Regions from separate parts of the Homo sapiens genome. Here region 2 is linked to region 1. Evidence: promoter capture Hi-C in 16 types of primary human blood cells and fetal thymus (Javierre and others, 2016). All regions are on one chromosome and are shown on one strand. Each heading gives the region's core, a stretch centred on a gene start or on the middle of the fragment in contact. The rest is flanking DNA. Distances are from core to core; before and after follow the strand shown.

Region 1 (6,190 bases), core at 342-2,841:
AATGAGCAAGGCAAAAGTGAAATAACAAAGTTGTGTATTGGAACTTTACTCATTTGTCAATGACGTGGGCAACTTCTTCGCTAAATTAGGTAAGTCTTCAAATACTGGAAGGCTATTTTCTCAGATTTTTCTATGCCCAAAATATAATAGCTACAGACACATCTTTAAGTTTAATCTGCATAATTAACATTTTCTCTATCACTTTAGTTTAGACAATCAACAGAACAATAAATCAAACCCTGATTTGTAGCACTTGCTGATTTCAAGCTAGCTAACAAGATGAAGTTCCTGAACACACCCTGGGAAGAGATATGCAGCAGCCCACCACTGTATACTGTTTCTTTTCTTTTCTTTTTTTTGAGACAGAGTCTTGCTTTGTCGCTTAGGCTGGAGTGCAGTGGCACCATCTTGGCTCATCACAACCTCCACCTCCCAGATTCAAGCGATCGCCCTGCCCCAGCCTCCCAAGTAGCTGGACTACAGGTACCCACACCACACCCGGCTAATTTTTGTAGTTTTAGTTGAGACGGGGTTTCACCCGTTGACCAGGCTAGTCTCGAACACCTGACCTCAGGCGATCCACCCACCTCGGCCTCCCAAAGTGCTGGGATTACAGTCATGAGCCACCAAGCCCAGCCAAGTTTATATCATTTAAGTTTTAAAGGCTGGGCTTGGTGGCTCATGACTGTAATCCCAGCACTTTGGGAGGCCGAGGTGGGTGGATCGCCTGAGGTCAGGTGTTCCAGACCAGCCTGACCAACATGGAGAAACCCTGTCTCTACTAAAAATACAAAATTATCCGGGTGTGGTGGTGCATGCCTGTAATCCCAGCTACTCGGGAGGCTGAGGCAGGAGAATTGCTTGAAGATGGGAGGCGGAGGTTGTGGTGAGCCGAGATCACGCCACTGCACTCTAGCCTGGGCAACAAGAGCAAAACTCTGTCTCAAAAAAAAAAAAAAAAAAGTTTTAATAATTGCTGTGTTTAACAACTGGTTTGTAGCATTCCTGAAAATGTAACAACCAGCTCTCGTGACCTGTTTTGGTCTGGCTCCAGCATACAACTGTGCCACTGCCTTCTCCTTTGCCCACTGTTTCCAAATAAATAAGCTTCTCAGTTTAGTTAACAGGTGTCCATTTCTTTAAAAAAAAAAAAAAATCTCCTTTTCTCCCATGAGATGGGGTAGGGAAGATGAACTCCCTTTTTCCTATCCTTAGACTTCCCTGGGCAGGTGAACAAGTCCCATGGAAGTTTGGTGAGGGGCTTCAAGGGGAGCCAAGAGGATTAAAGCCTGTATGTTCCCGAGAGCCTTCCTTGCATCTGGCCAGCTCACTGCTGCCTTGGCATAACTTTGGGAGGGTCATTTTTTCCATGTGGGGTAAGGCTGAATGTTTACAAAGTGGAATAGGCTGCATTACTGCTGGTTTGTAGTTGGTGGAAAGAGGGAGAAAAGAGCCTGGCACATCCTCTGTCCTTCCTCTTCTTTTTTTTTTCCCTTTTCTGTTGTCACCATCACATTCCTTGATGTCATTCCTGCCATTGTGAGCTGACAGGCCCTCCCAGCCCTGGTGGACAGCCCGTAAGTAAATGGGGAGGAAATGCTGGGGAGGTGGGGGCAGATCACATCAACATCCTGGCATTGGGCTGGGTCGGCGTGGAGCCCCAGAAATGTTCCCAAGCCCATTCTTACCAAGAACCAATGAGTAAAATCAGGGGCCTCCCACCTGAGGTCAGGGAACCAGGCCCTGGAGTGGAACTTGGGGTGGAAAATGGCCTTCTTTGTCAACTGATTCATTCTCCAGAATTCAATTTGTTCTCCAACTCGGTGGTGTTTGAAAGCAACTTTATCCAGGTACCCTCGTGGAGCTCAGGGCCAGCTGTCTTTCTGTTTCCAAAACCTGTTCCTAGGGGTTGGTTAGGAGATGCTGTGGCCTTTTAAAGCCCTGGGGGAGGGGGGGGCGGGGGGACAAAGAAGCCACCAAAGCTAGAGAAAACCAGAAGGTCTGGGTCCCAAGTTCACCTCCATTTGTGCCTACCGTATGATAGAGCTACCTGCAGGTCATCTGTTCTAGGGAAATTGATTTATGCTTTACAAATGAGAGATCAGAGCTCAGTCTCCAGGCAGGGTTCACAGGCCCTTTCTGGGCCACTTGTCCAAAGTGGATGGTTACAGGGAATGAAGGTTGCTGTTAGAAACTCTGCTCTGAAATCCATCCTCCTCAGTCTGGGATGGTTTAGAAACAGCCTTGTTTGAAAGCAAAGACACTGGGTAAATAGGTGTTGCCCAGATCCTACCATTCCCTAAAAGGATGGTGGTGACATGACCAATGGAAGTGAGCCTGGGATGGGGCCACTGGGAGTGGAAGGTGGTCGTTTTCGTAAGTATCAAGTCTTAACGCGGGTGCTGCCTGCCTCCCTCTAGCGGTCTAGCCTGAACCCATGCTCCTGCGCAGGAGAGCATAACCAGTTAATCAGCCAGTAAGCACACACTAAACATCTACTGAGTGCAGGGCAGGAGGTGCAGAGAAAAATCAGAGTGTCCCTGGCCAGGAAGCCTATGAGTTTGGTTTACCTGTTATTTGGTAACTGTCTAAGCAAGCTCTATGTCAGAGAGCTTGGGCCAGCTGATGCACCAGGCATGACTGCAGAGAGCAGGTGCTGGGGGCATTCATTCAAGGCATTCTCTCTGGACTTTGGCAGTTGAAGAAGGCTTTCCAGAAGGGTCTTAAGCCATTCTTTGAGAGACTGCTGAGATTTTGGTAAGTGGAAGAGCAGCGGGGAGGATATCCCAGACAGAGGGGCTTCAAAGTACCTAAGGAAAGGCAGGGAGGCTGGAATGCAAGGTCTGCAAGACACAGACCCATTCAAATGGAATGGGAAAGTAGCCAGGGGTTATAGGAGAGAAGGTGGGAACAGTTTGAGGTGGGTCTTGGGCTTAATTTGGAGACTCTTCACAGAGCAGCGAGCTGCTCCCTAATGGAGTCCCCGGATTTTGGAGAGCTGTGTTTATGGCTCCTGCCGCTCCACGGTCCCTTTACTGTGCCCCAGGAGATGTGTAGTTGGGTGATCAGCTGGCAAACCTGAGGCGAGCTCATTCCTAACATACCCTTGGTGGAGACAGAGCAATAACATGGGAAGTCCAGTCTCAGGATCCAATTTCTAGTCATTTCTATTTGGGTGTAATGATTCAGCTGCAAATTTCTTCTCTTAATGTGTGCTTTTTTTTTGAGATGGAGTCTCACTCCGTTGCCCTGGCATGGTCTAGGCTCACTGCAACCTCTGCCTCCTGGGTTCAAGCAATTCTCCTATCTCAGCCTCCCGAGTAGCTAGGACCACAGGCGTGCACCACCTCGCCCAGCTAATTTTTTTGTGTTTTAGTAGAGATGGGGTTTCACCATGTTGGCCAAGATGGTCTTGATCTCTTGACCTCATGATCTGCCCGCCTTGGCCTCCCAAAGTGCTGTTTTCTTTGGCCTAATATTAAAACTGTTTAGATTCTCTGAATGGACACTAAGTGACCTGGGTAGCAGCAAACTTAGAATGTGCTAGGGAGAGGCTGACCCGCACAGAAAAGTTCAAAGTTTGATTTTTTAAAAAAAAATTTTTGATAGAGACAGGGTCTCACTATGTTGCCCAGGCTGGTCTTGAACTCCTGGCTTCAAGTGATACTCCGGCTTTGGACTCCCAAAGTGCTGGGATTATAGGCATGAATGACCGCACACAGTCCAAAGTTTACTTGAAGTGATGCAACCCACATATTAGTTATAGTTATAGTTGTTATAGTACAGTTACACTGCTTCCTCTCTCCCCCTTCCTGCACATCACCATCACTATCATCATCTCAAAGCAGCATTACCCACAAACATTTATTGAGCACTTACTCTCAATGTGTACAACCCTTTGTGTTTTGCAGAGGATATGAATTTCATTCCTCAACAAGGGCTCCAAGAAGTGTCACTTTTTTTTTTCAAAATCAAAATTCACTTTTCTGGGAACACCATCTGGTCAGGCTGGTGGGAAATTACATTTCAGTCATCCCTGGGGCTTTCCCTCATCCCCAGTTCCACCAAGGACTGGGCAATGGTGTCGATAGTTTTACAAAGTCTAGAACATTGGCTGGGCATAGTGGCTCATGCCTGTGATCCCAGCACTTTGGGAGGCTGAGAAGGGAAGATCACTTGAGCCCAGGAGTTTGACACCAGTCTGGGCAACATAGTGAGACCCCATCTCTATTTTCTAAAAAAAGTGTAGAGCATTGGGAGAAGGCCCTCTGGCCTTGGGAACATAGGCGTCCCTCCTCATATGTTCCTTATCCAGGTCCCTGTGGCTCCTAAGTGGCCACAGCTCTGGTGCTTTTCTGCCAGCCGTGCACAGTGAGGTGGGGGGTGTCTTAGCTGAGACACAGTGCCCAGTGGTGGGCATCCAGTCTTTCTGTCCTGTGATGGCCGCCTTCTGCTTCAAGAGAATAGGTCCTCATTCCACTCAAGACCCAGCAACAAGATAGCCCCTCCATCATCCTGGGAGAAGTGCTCCAAACCTCCCTCAACTCAAGCTGTCTGGGTCTTCCCCATTCAACAGCTTTTTCCTCACTTTCCTCTCCTTCTGGGACTTTCTTCACACAATCTCCCTTTTGGGCCACTAGAAACCAGTGCTGGCTTCTCCTGCCCAAAGATGGGGGAATGAAAACTTCAGTGCCACTCAGCTTTTTCTTGCTAGTGCATCTTTTTAGTTAGATAAAACAGTTATCTTTTTAGTTAGATAAAACAGAGGACCCAGAGAAGAATGACACAGGGTTCCTGCAGCCAATGACCTTAAAGTGTATTTGGGGAGGCCAATGAAAAGGATCAATAGCAGGTCAGGGCCCAGCCCAGTGTGTGCACACCTGCCCCCAAGATGATGTGCCACTTTCCAGCATCTGTATTCCACCCCTTGTTTTCTGCTCCTTTCTGACCCATGTACCTGAGGCTGATTTCCAGGTCACTAAGCCCGGGAACTGGAGAGATGTCTGTGAAGGGTCTGCCACCGTGATCCTCGGGGTCACCTCCTCGGTGCCCTCCCTGCCACTCCCCAATGTCCTCCTGATGGCCAATGTTACCTGGCCCCAGGGTCCATTTACCACCTGGAGCACACCTGGTGACGCCCCAGTCATCAACCTCAGCAGGTAAAGGCTTGAGGGAGGGCGGGAAGGGATGGAATGATTGACTGGGATATGCATTGCTTTGTAGCTGGATTTTAGATCAAAAGAAAAGATAGCGTTCTTTAGTGCATAAACCCTGTAGAACTCATTCATTCATTTGTTTAGCAACGATTTATTTAGTATCTTTTTTTTTTTTTTTTTTGAGACAGAGTCTCGCTCTGTTGCCCAGGCTGGAGTGCAGTGGCGGGATCTCGGCTCACTGCAAGCCCCGCCTCCCGGGTTCACGCCATTCACCGAGTAGCTGGGACTACAGGCGCCTGCCACCATGCCCAGCTAATTTTTTTTTTTGGATTTTTAGTAGAGATGGGGTTTCACTGTGTTAGCCAGGATGGTCTCGATCTCCTGATCTCGTGATCCACCTGCCTCGGCCTCCCAAAGTGCTGGGATTACAGGCGTGAGCCACCGCGCCTGACCTTATTTATTTAGTATCTATATTTACCAAGCACTGTGCTTCGTGCTGGGATAGGGCAGTACCCAGTCCTTGTCTCGAGCCTGGTTTTTGAGAATCTTGGCTTCCTTTTCTGTAAATGTGTGTGTGTGTGTAAGTGTGTGTGTATATATGTGTGTGTGTGTATATATAGACACGTTTCCATGTCTTTTAAAATCTTTTTGTAAATATCATTTCGATAATTTCTTTAGTAATATGAGTGAATTAAAATTCACTTGACAAGTCCCTAATATTAGACATTTAGAAATGTTTCTTTGTCAATATAGATAGAGGGGGTTTCCAAGGAAAAGGTGGGGATACAAAAGTCAAACACGACTATGAAATGCTGAGATTGAAAAAAAAATACTAGATATACAGGAGACAGCTATCCTTTTCCTTGCCCTTTCGACACAGTAAGTCAGGATATAGGGAGAAAGAGTCCTAGAAACTGAGTCAGGAAACCTTAGTTCCAGGTCACACTTAATAAGATCTAAACTTGGGCAAATCACTTAGCCTCTCTAAGCCTCAGCCTCGAAATCTGTAAAGCGGAATTAATCATACTTATCTT
Region 2 (6,077 bases), core at 1,585-4,084, 97 kb after region 1:
TCAGCTAATTTTTGTATTTTTAGTAGAGATGGGGTTTTGCCATTTTGGCCAGGCTGGTCTCAAATTCCTGACCTCAGGTGATCTGGTCTCAAACTCCGACCTCAGGTGATCTGCCTGCCTAGGCCTCCCAAAGTGCTGGAATTACAGGTGTGAGCCACCACGCCCATCCAGACACTAGTATTTCTAATTGTTTCTTTTTCATTATCTTGGAGCTTTTTACACTCTAGTTTCAAAATGGTTGAAAATATGCCTTTCTTTTATAAAGTGGGACAAGGGCAGTTGTGAAAGGGGGGAGATGGGAAAAAAGCCTTGATGGCCAGAGGTACATTCTTATGAAGATCAATTTTTGGAAAAATCTATATGTGGAACTGAGTATCTGGAATTTGATTCTCTCTTGACTGACCTTTCTCAGTGTACTCCTTGACAGTGTTCCTGTTTCCCCAGGGGCGTGCTTGTCCCAACTGAAGGCCACTGGTATAATGGACTCTTTGTAGTAATTGGCTACACCTTTCTAAAACAAGTGGTCCCGTTTAATTAGCTACCTTAGGGTGAAATGAAATGTAGGGAACGAGTCTAAGTCTTTCTTGATGGTAGCTCTCTCCTCTTATTTCTGCATTTATTAAGGTATAAGAACTCTTTGCTCTCATGTGACTTAAAATCAGCAGCTGGAAATATTCTTGTTGCAAGATAAGTGATTAAGCCTCAGGAAAATACCTTGCTTTCTAAGGTCTGTCTGGCCTAAAATACCCTTGTAGCTGCTGTTGGGTTCCAAACAAATGGATGAGGAAAAAGGGTTAGGCCAGATTAGCATGAGGCAGTTTTGGGGAAAAGACAAACCCTTCTTTTGTATGTATGTCTGTGTACCCAGGTGACATGTACAGCCATGATGGGAATACTGATGAGCCAGAATGGGTAAAGACAGAGCGAGAGCAGTTTGTTGAGTTTCGGGATAAGAACCGTGATGGGAAGATGGACAAGGAAGAGACCAAAGACTGGATCCTTCCCTCAGACTATGATCATGCAGAGGCAGAAGCCAGGCACCTGGTCTATGAATCAGACCAAAACAAGGTAAGTCTGGCGAGGCCCACACGCTCTATCCTTGATTGAAGTATGCTTCTAGGGGATCACCTGAACAGTTTCTGTTAAGGTGCATAGAGCATTTAAGGTCTTAATTAGTCTAAGTCAGCCAAGTATCTGAATCTGGCGATTAAAACCTTTCAGGGCAGCACTAGCTATCTGATCTCATTTTAGAAATCCTTTTGCCCAGTGCTGATAGCATTGTAGGAAATTTGGCTTCAGAAAAGAGCCTTTGTGTGTAGCCTGTGCCCAGCATGCATCATCAGGTATTTTTAGATCCCCAGGAATTTTTTTTTTTCTTTGTTACTTCATTTGTTCCTTTACCTATTACAGGCCCATTCTGTCTACTCAAAGCTGGTTGTTTCCTTCTTAAATCAAATAGGCTTTTTTAAATTGGGTCCTTTGTATGGGCTATAAATCAGCTTTTCTCTGGAGCCTGTTCAAATTGTCCTTGATCAATTAATTATCTGAGGTATTTTGTTAAAAGTATTGTTGTCCCTAAGCCCAGTCACCTGCTTCAGAGATTACTCCTGCCCTGCTTGGAGTAAGCTGAAAATCGGTCTAAAGATGGAGATTTTCAGTGTTCTGAGTATATTTTTGTCTAAGCTAATCTTCAATTTCAAATTCAGTTTTTTATTTTAGAGCCTTTTTAAGTGTTGATCTGCTTTAAGTTCTTGCTCAAAGTCACTTTAGTAGCCAGGTGTTGTGTCCTGAGATGTATGAGAAAAGGAAATGCATGTAGTCATCCCTATCTAGGAGATGTTCCATATTTTCCTCTAAAAGGAGAGTTTTCTCCTCATGAAACAAACCTTTATCTCTAGCATTGAGTTGTTGTGTTATATTCTTTCCACCCTTCCACTTTTAACTTTCTTGATAAAAGAAATGTTTAATTGGCCTGGCACGATGGCTCACGCCTGTAATCCCAGCACTTTGGGAGGCCAAGGCAGGCGGATCACCTGAGATTGGGTGTTCAAGACCAGCCTGACAAACATGGAGAAACCCCATCTCTACTAAAAATACAAAATTACCTGGGCGTGGTGGCGCATGCCTGTAATCCCAGCTACTCGGGAGGCTGAGGCAGAAAAATCACTTAAATCACTTTAACACGGGAGGCGGAGGTTGCGGTGAGCTGAGATCGCGCCATTGCACTCCAGCCTGGGCAACAAGAGCGAAACTCCGTCTCAAAAAAAAAAAAAAAAAAAAACAAGGAATGTGTAATTGCTGTTTTCTTCCCTCTTCGTATGTATGTAGGGGGAATGAGGGCTGAGTAGTTCACACTTAATTTAGTAGAAATGAGAATCTTAACTTCTGATTAACCCCAATTCTTCTATAACAGTGTTTCTGAATTTTTAATGGGAAATATGTTCTTCTTCAATTCATTGCTATCTCTACTTTCAGGATGGCAAGCTTACCAAGGAGGAGATCGTTGACAAGTATGACTTATTTGTTGGCAGCCAGGCCACAGATTTTGGGGAGGCCTTAGTACGGCATGATGAGTTCTGAGCTACGGAGGAACCCTCATTTCCTCAAAAGTAATTTATTTTTACAGCTTCTGGTTTCACATGAAATTGTTTGCGCTACTGAGACTGTTACTACAAACTTTTTAAGACATGAAAAGGCGTAATGAAAACCATCCCGTCCCCATTCCTCCTCCTCTCTGAGGGACTGGAGGGAAGCCGTGCTTCTGAGGAACAACTCTAATTAGTACACTTGTGTTTGTAGATTTACACTTTGTATTATGTATTAACATGGCGTGTTTATTTTTGTATTTTTCTCTGGTTGGGAGTATGATATGAAGGATCAAGATCCTCAACTCACACATGTAGACAAACATTAGCTCTTTACTCTTTCTCAACCCCTTTTATGATTTTAATAATTCTCACTTAACTAATTTTGTAAGCCTGAGATCAATAAGAAATGTTCAGGAGAGAGGAAAGAAAAAAAATATATGCTCCACAATTTATATTTAGAGAGAGAACACTTAGTCTTGCCTGTCAAAAAGTCCAACATTTCATAGGTAGTAGGGGCCACATATTACATTCAGTTGCTATAGGTCCAGCAACTGAACCTGCCATTACCTGGGCAAGGAAAGATCCCTTTGCTCTAGGAAAGCTTGGCCCAAATTGATTTTCTTCTTTTTCCCCCTGTAGGACTGACTGTTGGCTAATTTTGTCAAGCACAGCTGTGGTGGGAAGAGTTAGGGCCAGTGTCTTGAAAATCAATCAAGTAGTGAATGTGATCTCTTTGCAGAGCTATAGATAGAAACAGCTGGAAAACTAAAGGAAAAATACAAGTGTTTTCGGGGCATACATTTTTTTTCTGGGTGTGCATCTGTTGAAATGCTCAAGACTTAATTATTTGCCTTTTGAAATCACTGTAAATGCCCCCATCCGGTTCCTCTTCTTCCCAGGTGTGCCAAGGAATTAATCTTGGTTTCACTACAATTAAAATTCACTCCTTTCCAATCATGTCATTGAAAGTGCCTTTAACGAAAGAAATGGTCACTGAATGGGAATTCTCTTAAGAAACCCTGAGATTAAAAAAAGACTATTTGGATAACTTATAGGAAAGCCTAGAACCTCCCAGTAGAGTGGGGATTTTTTTCTTCTTCCCTTTCTCTTTTGGACAATAGTTAAATTAGCAGTATTAGTTATGAGTTTGGTTGCAGTGTTCTTATCTTGTGGGCTGATTTCCAAAAACCACATGCTGCTGAATTTACCAGGGATCCTCATACCTCACAATGCAAACCACTTACTACCAGGCCTTTTTCTGTGTCCACTGGAGAGCTTGAGCTCACACTCAAAGATCAGAGGACCTACAGAGAGGGCTCTTTGGTTTGAGGACCATGGCTTACCTTTCCTGCCTTTGACCCATCACACCCCATTTCCTCCTCTTTCCCTCTCCCCGCTGCCAAAAAAAAAAAAAAAGGAAACGTTTATCATGAATCAACAGGGTTTCAGTCCTTATCAAAGAGAGATGTGGAAAGAGCTAAAGAAACCACCCTTTGTTCCCAACTCCACTTTACCCATATTTTATGCAACACAAACACTGTCCTTTTGGGTCCCTTTCTTACAGATGGACCTCTTGAGAAGAATTATCGTATTCCACGTTTTTAGCCCTCAGGTTACCAAGATAAATATATGTATATATAACCTTTATTATTGCTATATCTTTGTGGATAATACATTCAGGTGGTGCTGGGTGATTTATTATAATCTGAACCTAGGTATATCCTTTGGTCTTCCACAGTCATGTTGAGGTGGGCTCCCTGGTATGGTAAAAAGCCAGGTATAATGTAACTTCACCCCAGCCTTTGTACTAAGCTCTTGATAGTGGATATACTCTTTTAAGTTTAGCCCCAATATAGGGTAATGGAAATTTCCTGCCCTCTGGGTTCCCCATTTTTACTATTAAGAAGACCAGTGATAATTTAATAATGCCACCAACTCTGGCTTAGTTAAGTGAGAGTGTGAACTGTGTGGCAAGAGAGCCTCACACCTCACTAGGTGCAGAGAGCCCAGGCCTTATGTTAAAATCATGCACTTGAAAAGCAAACCTTAATCTGCAAAGACAGCAGCAAGCATTATACGGTCATCTTGAATGATCCCTTTGAAATTTTTTTTTTGTTTGTTTGTTTAAATCAAGCCTGAGGCTGGTGAACAGTAGCTACACACCCATATTGTGTGTTCTGTGAATGCTAGCTCTCTTGAATTTGGATATTGGTTATTTTTTATAGAGTGTAAACCAAGTTTTATATTCTGCAATGCGAACAGGTACCTATCTGTTTCTAAATAAAACTGTTTACATTCATTATGGGGTATGTATGACCTTCATTTTCCAAGAAATAGAACTCTAGCTTAGAATTATGGATGCTCTAAAATGTCAGAATGGGAACTCTCCTCGAAGTTCTCCCAAACTCAGAGACAGCACTGCCTTCTCCTAAATGATTATTCTTTTCTCCCTGTTTTCTGGTATTTTCTAGCATCCTTCTCACCACAGCCATAACCCTTTTTTACTTCCATTAGGCCGTATAACTGGAGAGACCTGCTGCTCGTTATATAATTATCTGATACCAAACACAAGCGATTCTGAATGTACACACACGTTTATCTATAGAGCATAAGGTAAAACAATTTTGTTTAACATTTTGGTATTGTTTACAAATGTTATTAAAACATGCAAATTCATTTTGAGAACCTCGAGAGAATTAAACTATTAACTTTAGTAAACACACAGTTTAAGACAAATATAAAGGTTTAGCCAAATGCAACGGGGAGGAAGCACCTGGAATAATTTGTGCTTGCTCAGGGGCTTGTGGACATGGCTGTTCCTGCCAAAGCTGTAGCAGTTATCCAAAAGTTCTTTCAAACTCATATTTGGGGCCACTGAGTTTTTTTTGTTTTTTTTTTTGTTTTGTTTTGTTTTTTCTTTATGTCTCTCCCATTTCTAAAGTGTTTTCTTAAGTTTGTTCTAATTCAGCATATATCATCTCAGAATGGATCCCCAGCAGGAAAAAAAAAAAAAGTTACTAAAAAGGAAAGTATCCATACACTGAAAACTTAAAGCATATTCCTTTTTGGTTGCCTTGTATGTAGAAATCAGTTCTCCAAGTGCTGTGAATGGTGCCACTTAGGAGTAGAAACTGATGATTGTTGAAATGGCCTTTGGGTGGTCTGAAATAGACCAGTGGAAACAGTAGCTTTGTAGGCAAGAAGGCAATAGTAAGAAAATGAAAAATTGACTCCCCAAACTGCCATCACTCCTTTTACCATCTTTTTTGTGTTTTTAGTAGTTTGGTTTCTGACGGAGACAATAGAAACTTACTTAAAAGTAAAATTTAATTCTAGCTGTTGCAAACAGGCCAATATTGGGTCCTCAGTTGGGGCCAACTTGGGTAGACGAGACAGTAGAAACTTCTGTTTTCTGGGAGCTGCATGTGTCGGATTCATCTGTCATGGCCTTCCCACACACCATCTTCATGATGCAAGCTTGGAACTGGA

Evidence for each region. Contacts are between HindIII fragments. The CHiCAGO score rates a contact against its expected background, and 5 or more counts as called.
Region 2: a contact is called between a fragment that was not itself captured here and the fragment with the promoter of GARIN1A in region 1, in 1 of 17 cell types (M1 macrophages). The highest score is 5.1, in M1 macrophages.

The regions. Positions count from the first base shown.
Region 1 is chr7:128,670,701-128,676,890 of GRCh38, forward strand. It overlaps GARIN1A (golgi associated RAB2 interactor 1A), which reads left to right and starts at 1,592. Exons shown (of 5, transcript NM_001128926.4): 1 at 1,592-1,850; 2 at 4,975-5,159. The coding sequence starts at 1,698. RefSeq lists a silencer at 2,454-2,513. The HindIII fragment of the contact is 20,881 bases long and covers 1,106-6,190 here.
Region 2 is chr7:128,766,588-128,772,664 of GRCh38, forward strand. It overlaps CALU (calumenin), which reads left to right. Exons shown (of 7, transcript NM_001219.5): 6 at 869-1,068; 7 at 2,476-6,077. The coding sequence ends at 2,580. It overlaps OPN1SW (opsin 1, short wave sensitive), which reads right to left. Exons shown (of 5, transcript NM_001385125.1): 5 at 5,898-6,072. The coding sequence ends at 5,953. Among named protein-coding and RNA genes, the nearest start is that of OPN1SW, 6.2 kb to the right of the region's middle. The HindIII fragment of the contact is 705 bases long and covers 2,483-3,187 here.